2 separate regions of the Homo sapiens genome follow, and region 2 is linked to region 1. Evidence: promoter capture Hi-C in human tissues and cell types (Jung and others, 2019). All regions are on one chromosome and are shown on one strand. Each heading gives the region's core, a stretch centred on a gene start or on the middle of the fragment in contact. The rest is flanking DNA. Distances are from core to core; before and after follow the strand shown.

The links. The method cuts DNA at HindIII sites, captures the fragments that hold promoters and counts their contacts. A contact is called where the count stands out against the background at its distance.
Region 2: a contact is called between a fragment that was not itself captured here and the fragment with the promoter of PDCD1LG2 in region 1, in 1 of the 25 tissues and cell types used here (thymus).

The regions. Positions count from the first base shown.
Region 1 is chr9:5,508,325-5,512,575 of GRCh38, reverse strand. PDCD1LG2 (programmed cell death 1 ligand 2) reads right to left here and starts at 2,045. Exons shown (of 7, transcript NM_025239.4): 1 at 1,773-2,045. The region is part of intron 2 of INCR1 (interferon stimulated noncoding RNA 1); the gene reads left to right. RefSeq lists enhancers at 1,947-1,996, 2,157-2,216, 2,277-2,356, 2,298-3,497. The HindIII fragment of the contact is 28,529 bases long and covers 1-4,251 here.
Region 2 is chr9:5,360,113-5,364,139 of GRCh38, reverse strand. It overlaps PLGRKT (plasminogen receptor with a C-terminal lysine), which reads left to right. Exons shown (of 6, transcript NM_018465.4): 4 at 2,252-2,382; 5 at 2,953-3,062. Among named protein-coding and RNA genes, the nearest start is that of RLN1, 22 kb to the right of the region's middle. The HindIII fragment of the contact is 8,856 bases long and covers 1-4,027 here.

The DNA.
Region 1 (4,251 bases), core at 796-3,295:
TGAACTCAGGAACGTCCCAAAATTTGGAGAGCAGGAACAGAGGACTAGTGAAAAAGGCAGAGACAAGGTGGTCAGAAGAGCATCAGAAGCTCCCCCAGGGCAGTACTTCTGAGGCAATGGAGGAAAATCCCTCAAAGCAGGGGCAGTTCATCATAGGGAGCCGTGAAGACTAAGAACTGGAAGTCAGCCCACAGGTGTGTTAGAGACAGCTGGAAGGCATCAGAGGTGACTGGGGCTAGATAACCTTTCAGATGCTCTTGTCTGTCCTGGAATTCTGTGAGTTGATTTGAAGGTTATCGAGCCCAGCTACAGTGGAGCAGGGTGTGGCATGAGGAGGTGATACTACAGTTGCCCCTTTACAGAGTAACCCACGTATGCAACAATTAAGACATATGACATATTTGGACATTAGCATGTGGAATTAAAATGACACACAACAATCTACTGGTTGCTGTCCAATGTATTGTAAAGCAAATAAACTCTGAAGCATGACCCATAATACTGTCTCTACCATCTCCTTTTTCAAATCAACCTCAAACTTCCCCCTGTCCATTACACGAACATTTCATTTCTGGTGATTCTCCTGACATTTCATCAAATAAATCCATTCAACAATTCGGCAAGCACCCACTAAGCACCTATGTGTATTGCCAGGTACTGCACTAGGAACTTGGGACTCAGAGAACCTTAAAGGTGTGCTTCTTGCCTGTGAGGAGCTCCAGTTCAATGGAAAAGCTCACCAACAGGAGAAATCTGGGGAGAAGACACCCTGAAGCAGCAGACAACAAAGAGCCTGATGATGGGGAGACCTCAAATAATGAAGGCAAATAGATCAGGTTCCAGTGGCAAGAGCAGCAGGACCAGGATTGTTCATCCACTCACAGAATCTTAGGCTTGGAAAGGAGCTTGGAGGACATCCAGGCCAACTCCGTATTTGACCCTGATACAACTGTCTCATTACTGCTCACACTGAATATTTTTACTCTGCATTTTGTCAATTTAGGTCTCTCATTCCCTGCCCCTCAGAGCCATAGTATTTTTGGGTTAAAAGTCCTGATTAGTTGGTAATCTCACTCAGGCTTAGCCTCTCCACCTCCATCCCCTCCACATGAACCCATTGCCTTTGCTCTTCTACTCAGTGCATCCAGGCGGTGAGCAATCAATAGCAATTATTTCAGTTCTGTTTAATTTTTCTACCTTTTCGCTGATCATTTTATATGGAAAGAATAAGCCTTTCCATAGTCCCCAAATCATGCTTTTGTTCAATAATGATTACCTCTATAAGTTATTAAGATAATAGTTTTGGGTTTTTTGTTTTTGTTCCCCCTCCACCAACAGCTGCCTCTTAGGCATAGCTTGTAAACAAAGGCCAGCCTGGAGGGATCACCGTCTGCTAAATGGATAATCACAAACAGATGTCAGTCATAGGAAAACAGATTTTTAAGTTCTTCACCATTAAGCCTCCGAAAACTCTAAGCTGAGAGACAATCTTAAGAATAGTTATATTATTTTACAGTGCACATATTTGGTGCAGAAAATATCTCACCTTATAAAACTGAGCAACAAGAACAATATGCATAGGAACAAGTGAGAGAAATCTGGGGCAGGAGGACATTAGCTTATTTGTGCCCCTCAGCACAATTTCTGAGGCAGAATGTCTCTTGCCTCAAATGGTGTGGAGAGAAGGTAGGCCACCCTTCCCCCACCCTGGCAGCCTCATCATGGTCCACAACATAATAGTATGAGAGTATCTCAACCCACTCGTTACTCACATGAGGACTTGCCACAGCTCCACAAGTAAAGATGCAAAAGTAAACAACAAAAAACAGTTGCTGTTTGTGTTAGATTTCCTTATAGTAGCCACCAAAATGAACAGCCAAAAGGAAAAACAAAACAATCAACATGCAGTAGCTCCAACCCAGGATTCTTTCTAGCTGGGACATATGAGGATGGGTAACAAAAAAGCACTCAAAATTTGGCGTTAAGATATATTCAAGAGAAGAAAAGTTGTTCATTCAGCTTAAGGTTTGCCGTAACATGAGAGTGAGTCAAACCAGAACTAGTTCTGAGGAACTGACGAAAGCCTGGCTTATTTGGAAAGTTTTGGTTTTGCTTTTAGCAGTTTGTCTGTGAATGGGATTGCATTCCTGATTTGGCTCTTGGCTTAGCTATGGTTGGTGTTTAGGAATACTAGTGATTTTTGTATGTTCATGTGGGATCCTGAAACTTTCTGAAGTTTATCAGCTTAAGGAGCTTTTGGGCTGAGACTGTGGGATTTTCTAGATATAAAATTATGTCATCTGCAAACATGGGTAGTTTGACTTCCTCTCTTCCTTCTTGGATGCCTTTTCTTTCTTTCTCTTGCCTGATTGCTCTGGCCAGGACTTCCAATAGTATGGTGAATAGGAGTGGTGAGAGAAGGCAGCCTTGTCTTGTGCCGGTTTTCAAGGGGCATCCTTCCAGCTTTTGCCTATTCAGTGTGATGTTGGCTGTGGGTTCATCATAGATGGCTCTTATTATTTTGAGGTATGTTCCTTCAATACCTGGTTTGTTGAGAGTCTTTTTTTTAACATACCTTGAGAGTTTTTAATACCCTTTTATTCCCTCTCTTTCCCCTATTCTTATATGTGCTCCAGCTTCCCCATTGTCCCTGGAGCACATTTAGGAATAGGGGAAAGGGATGGAATGAAGAATACCAGCATGTCTTAGTGCTGTGCCAGGAAATTGACTCATTTCCTAGGGCTTCTGTAACACATGACCTCAAGTCCTTGGCATTCCCTGACTTATAGTTGTATCACTCCAATCTCTGCCTCCATCTTCAAATGACATTCTTTTCTGTGTGTATCTCTACATTCCTCTCCTCTTATGAGGATACCATCCGTTTGATTAGTGCCCACCCTAATGCAGTATGACCTCATTTAGACTACATCTGCGTAGACCCTACTTCCAAATATAGTCACATTCTGAGGTCCTCAGTAGACATGAATTTGGGGGGAACATTATTCAACTAACCTCACTTCATTTCATAGTGCCTCATTTCATTCTCAGTGCAATGTGTGGTTTAGAGTTAGACCCATTTTACACATGAGAAAACAGGACCAAGATCAAACAATGTTTCCTTAGTTGCATGGCTGAATTTGAACTCGGACCTCAGTGGCCCCACTATACCTTCAGGCTTGTGATTGGTGAGATTAAAACCACATGGCAAGAAAAGGCAAACTTGAATATAGGCCTGAATGATCAATCCTTCTCCTGCTGCCTCCCGCCCTTTTCCTTGTGCTTATAGGGGTAGGACCAGCAGAGATGTGGGGCTGAACACTCAGACAGAGGATGTTTTTAAGAAAACATCTCTCCTTGCCTGTCCTCTAAGCCTTCCCTGCCTCCTTGTTTCTTCTACAAAAGCAAGGATCTCCTTTCCTCCTCCTTGTCCTGCATCCTCTTTTCGTCCCATCGCTTGAACAAGAAGTACTTTAAGAAGTACTACGAAGCTGTGTAGTACCTACAGATGGGAGTGGCTGCCTAGACGGCAAGAGTTGGGACTGTGTCTGTGGGACCCGTGCTTCCTCTGGGGATCTGCTTCTACACCCACGGCTCCAGGCATGTGGTTTCCTTAGGAGTTGCCATTCTCTTACCTGACCCTCTGTTCCTGGCCACAGTGACTGGCTGAGGAATGGACATATGTCCCCTGTGTGGCTTTGAGTTTTAGTATCTATGGAAAACACACCTCACCTACCAGAGTTCCTGTCCTTCTTTAGGAGTGAGGTGCACTCACCACAGTTTCCTTTCCTCTCTCTTGGGTAGCCTTTCTCCAGGCTTGGCCTGCCTCTCCTCTTCACACTTTCCTTTGGGCAGTTCAGCTCTGCTTTGCCACAGTTTAGGGCATCCTGAAGCAAAGGAAGGCCCAGGTATATTCACAGCAAGGCCAAATGAAACTCAAGCTAGTGTCTCAGCACATTAGCCTGCCTCATAAATCTATATGTCTAGAGAAAATAATGGAGGGTTACAAACCAAAGTGTTAATAAAGGCATTTCTGGGTGGAGGTAACTTTTTTTAGTTTTTTGTTAAACTTTTGTTTTACATAGGTAACTTTTTTAGTTTTTTGTTAAACTTTTATTTTACATAGGTAAACTCGTGTCATGGAGGTTTGTCATACAGATTATTTTGTCCCCTAGATACTAAGCCTAGAACCCAGTCATTTTTTTTTTTTTTTTTTTTTTTTTTTTTTTTTTTTTTGCTCATCTCCCTCCTCCC
Region 2 (4,027 bases), core at 409-2,908, 150 kb after region 1:
ACTAGACCTTTGAAAATCTCCCCAGATGCTCATGATGTGCAGCAAAGGTTTAGAACCAGTCTGGACTCCTCTATTTCTTGTTTGCTGCCTTTTGATAAAAACACAAATAATTAATTGCTGTATTTACATCACTTTGGGGGATATGATGAATCAGTATGTAAGTTTTGTAAATAAGTAATGTGGCAAGGATGAATTTCACACACTAATCTTGTGCAAAAACACATCTATTTTTAAACTCTAATTGAACTCAAAATGAACCTCAGTTTCTCTTGGTGACAGCAAATTTAATTTTGACAAGTCAAAGTTACTCAATTACTTCTAGTTTAAAACTCGGTTCTTTGGGAGAAAATAGTTGAATTCAGCTTTCCTCCTCCCCTTCTCCGTTCATCTTTTCCCTGGTATGACCTAGGCTTGGGTCCAGGTGATCTCAGGTGGCACCAGCATCAGGGAAGGCACATCTAGCCAGATGCATCTGGGGATCCCCAGACAGAGAATTATGGCCCTGCTTCCTGTGGAGAATGTTGGGAGGGAGCAGGTACTGCAGAGCATAAATGGTTTCAGAGCAGACCTCACAGAGAGCATGCCTAAGAGAGGCCACTTCCGTCTCCCTCAGCGGCCAAGGGGTGTGAAGAAAGTCTGCAAGGTTCTCACATCAGCTGGAGAGGGCCAGAGAAGGTAGCTGAAGATTGAGAGCAGGTGGCCTACCAGAGTCCAAAACCTTGGGCCAGGGGACCCCATAACACACACTTGGGAGTGAATATAAGCCAGTGGCTGAGTGGGGAAGGCCACTGGATCCCAGAGGATCAGTAGCACCTGAGAGTATGGCGATGATGGTTACGCCAGCCTGGAACATGGCCACATGCCCTTAGGGAACATCATGTGGCGCTGTCCAGGTTGATTGAACAGAAAACAAAGCAGAAAAGCACTCTCGGGTGCTGCTGATCCTCTGGGATCCAGTGAGTGGCCTTCCCCACCCAGCCACTGGCTTATGTTCACTCCCCAAGTGTCTGTTATGGGGTCCGCTGGCTCTAGGTTTTGGACTCATTGGTAGTCCCCCTGCTCTCAATCCGCAGTTACCTTCTGTGCCCCTCTCCAGCTGATGTGAGAACCTTGCAGACTTCCTCCACACCCCTTGGCTGTTGAGGGAGATGGAAGCGGCCTCTCTTAGGTGTGCTCTCTGCAAGGTCTGCCCTGAAACCATTTCTGCTGTGCTGTAGCTGCTCCCTCCCAGAATTCTCCGCAGGAAGCAAGGCCACAAGTCTTCTCTGTTTAGGGATTCCCAAACCCATCTGAGGCTTCCGTCATATCTTCTGGTGATTTAACCTCCCAAATAGGCCAAGGAGCCAAGCCCCATCTTTACATCTAAACTATCATTCGCCCCTCCCAGCTACTCCCCTCAGTAGAAAGAGGGCATGGAGGGAAAACTAAATCACATTATTAGTCCTTCCTCTCCTCTTCCTTGCATCATGAACTCCCTGTGTATTGCCCTCTAGCTTGGCTAATGACATGTAGTGCCAAGATTTTAGAATTAAAACATCAACAACAATGCCAACAACACTTTTCTCTGTCAAGAATATAACTCTCTTCAAATAATGGGCTTGGGTTTACAGACAGTTGCTTCTCCTGAGTATTTTCTAAAAATCAATTTAGAAATTCAGTTTCCTTCTCTGTTCTGAGCCATCTGCCTTCTGTTCAAAGCAGTGAAAGGCACTGAACAAAGTGGTGAAGAACTTGAGGCGAGAAAAATGTGGCAAAGAAAAATCTCTATAGATGTCTCAAAACAACACCCATCTACTATGATATTGTGGTATGATATGGAGCAAATAAATACTCCAAATAAATTTCAATTTGGAATGGATTTGGAAGGCAGATTTCCATGCAAGTAGAAATAAAGGCCAATAAGATGTATCTACATTTAAAGACCCATAGATCTTTCCACACATCCAATAGGAAAAGCTGGACATTTATTTGAGACTTGGCTAAAGCTCCAGACCACAGGCAGTCAAGACCTCAGGGTGTAAAAATGGAATATTGATATTTATTCTGTATTTATTCCAGGAAGATTTCACTGCCAAGGTGACAGTTGGTGAGAGCTGTCCAAAGGAACTTTAGTCAAAGTCTGTTGAGATTTTTTTGAAAAAACATGAATTAAAGCAATTGAAGAATGAATCCGCTGGAAAAACAGATTATTAACTATTTGTTCAGATTCCAAAGATGAGTAACTTTACTTTGTCTTTTGTTTTGTCCTTAGCTGGAAAGGCAGCTCATCATGCAGAGTGAAATGAGGGAAAGACAAATGGCCATGCAGATTGCGTGGTCTCGGGAATTCCTCAAATATTTTGGAACTTTTTTTGGCCTTGCAGCCATCTCTTTAACAGCTGGGTATGTTTGCTATTTAACATTTTCTTCAGTCATTTACTTCTTTTTGTGTTTTCCATTACCATTTTATTATGAAGTTGGCCAGAATAAGACTTTGGTCCAAATAGTGTATGTAACCAAAGTAACCTATTAACCTTAGTCCTTGGGGGTAACTCTGTGAAAGCAAGGCAGTAACAGTTAATTTAGTTTCCTAGGTTGCTTCTGTCTTTTTCTCTACTTTATTAGTTAGAGAGAGAGAGCACCAACTTGACACCAAGAAGGGCTCTATGTGTTTATCTCCACAATCCCTTAGTGGTAGATACCAATCCTTACTCATTTTAAAAACAAGGAACCTGAGCTTCAGAGTCAAATAAAGATGAGCAAGTCACAGACCTTGCCCTTGAGAACTGCAGAATCTGGTTAGGGGTATTGGGTAAGGAAATCCTATTTCCATAGAATTATCAAATGTGTTAAGTAACTTCTGAAGGAAAAGGCATTCTTCCAAAAAGCAGGTATTTTTTTTTCTTTAAGTATACAGATATGTATTTACAGGTTATTTTTTGATATTGGTTCTTCTTTTAATTCTTGAAACAGAGCGATTAAAAAAAAGAAGCCAGCCTTCCTGGTCCCGATTGTTCCATTAAGCTTTATCCTCACCTACCAGTATGACTTGGGCTATGGAACCCTTTTAGAAAGAATGAAAGGTAAGTCTTTGGTAAACTAGAGTTTCTATTTGCTGATTTATTTTCCATTTCAAGGATCCCTGCCTTAGGAACCTTTGACTTATAAAGATTCTGACAAGACTCTCTCTTTGAACCTCCAATGAGCAACATTTCTGCTCCCTTTCACACAGTGGTGTCCTAGAGCCAGCTCATACCAGCTCACAAGAACCAATCGCTACATTTTCAGGGATTGTGTAAGCTGGTTGTTAAACATAGTCACTTAATGTATTAAAACTTTTATAAACTTGCAATAAATAAATTACAGCAAATAAATAATATTAAATTGTGTTTAAAACAAAGGTAATAAACAGAACTCATCTGTTTCTAAATATTTACTATTATCCATACTCTGGTTATTTATAGCTATTGTATCTATGTGATAGAAATGCAGATATAATACACAGACAAAACAAAATACAGCTACAGTCCAGTTTCAGTGACATCCCATTGGTAGCCTGAAGTTGGTCTTGGTGGGAATATTTACACAATGGAAATCTGTTGTTGCCAAATCAAGGCTTGACTTCTTATTTTGTTGATTGTCTGGACCAGGGGTTGAAAAATGATGGCCTGAGGCTGGCCACCTGTTTTCCAAAATAAAGTTTTATTGGGACACATCCATGCTCATTCATTTATGTATTGTCTGTGGCTGCCTTCCCATTACCATGACAGAGCCATCCTTGAAACAGAAACATGAGTCCACAAGCCTATAATATTTACTGTCTGGCCCTTTAAGACAGTTTGCCAACCTATGGTCTAGATTTTAAAACTTGATGAAGAAAATGCTAATAATGCAGATTAAGCTTAAAAGTGTGCTTTGTCTGTAACTATTACATTGTAAGTAGCATAAAAGTTGGTGAAATATTCTTCTAATATTGAAAAACTATTATCCAGTTCAGCAAATAAGTTGTTTACATCATTCTCAAATAAATGAAGTTCCAACATTTGTC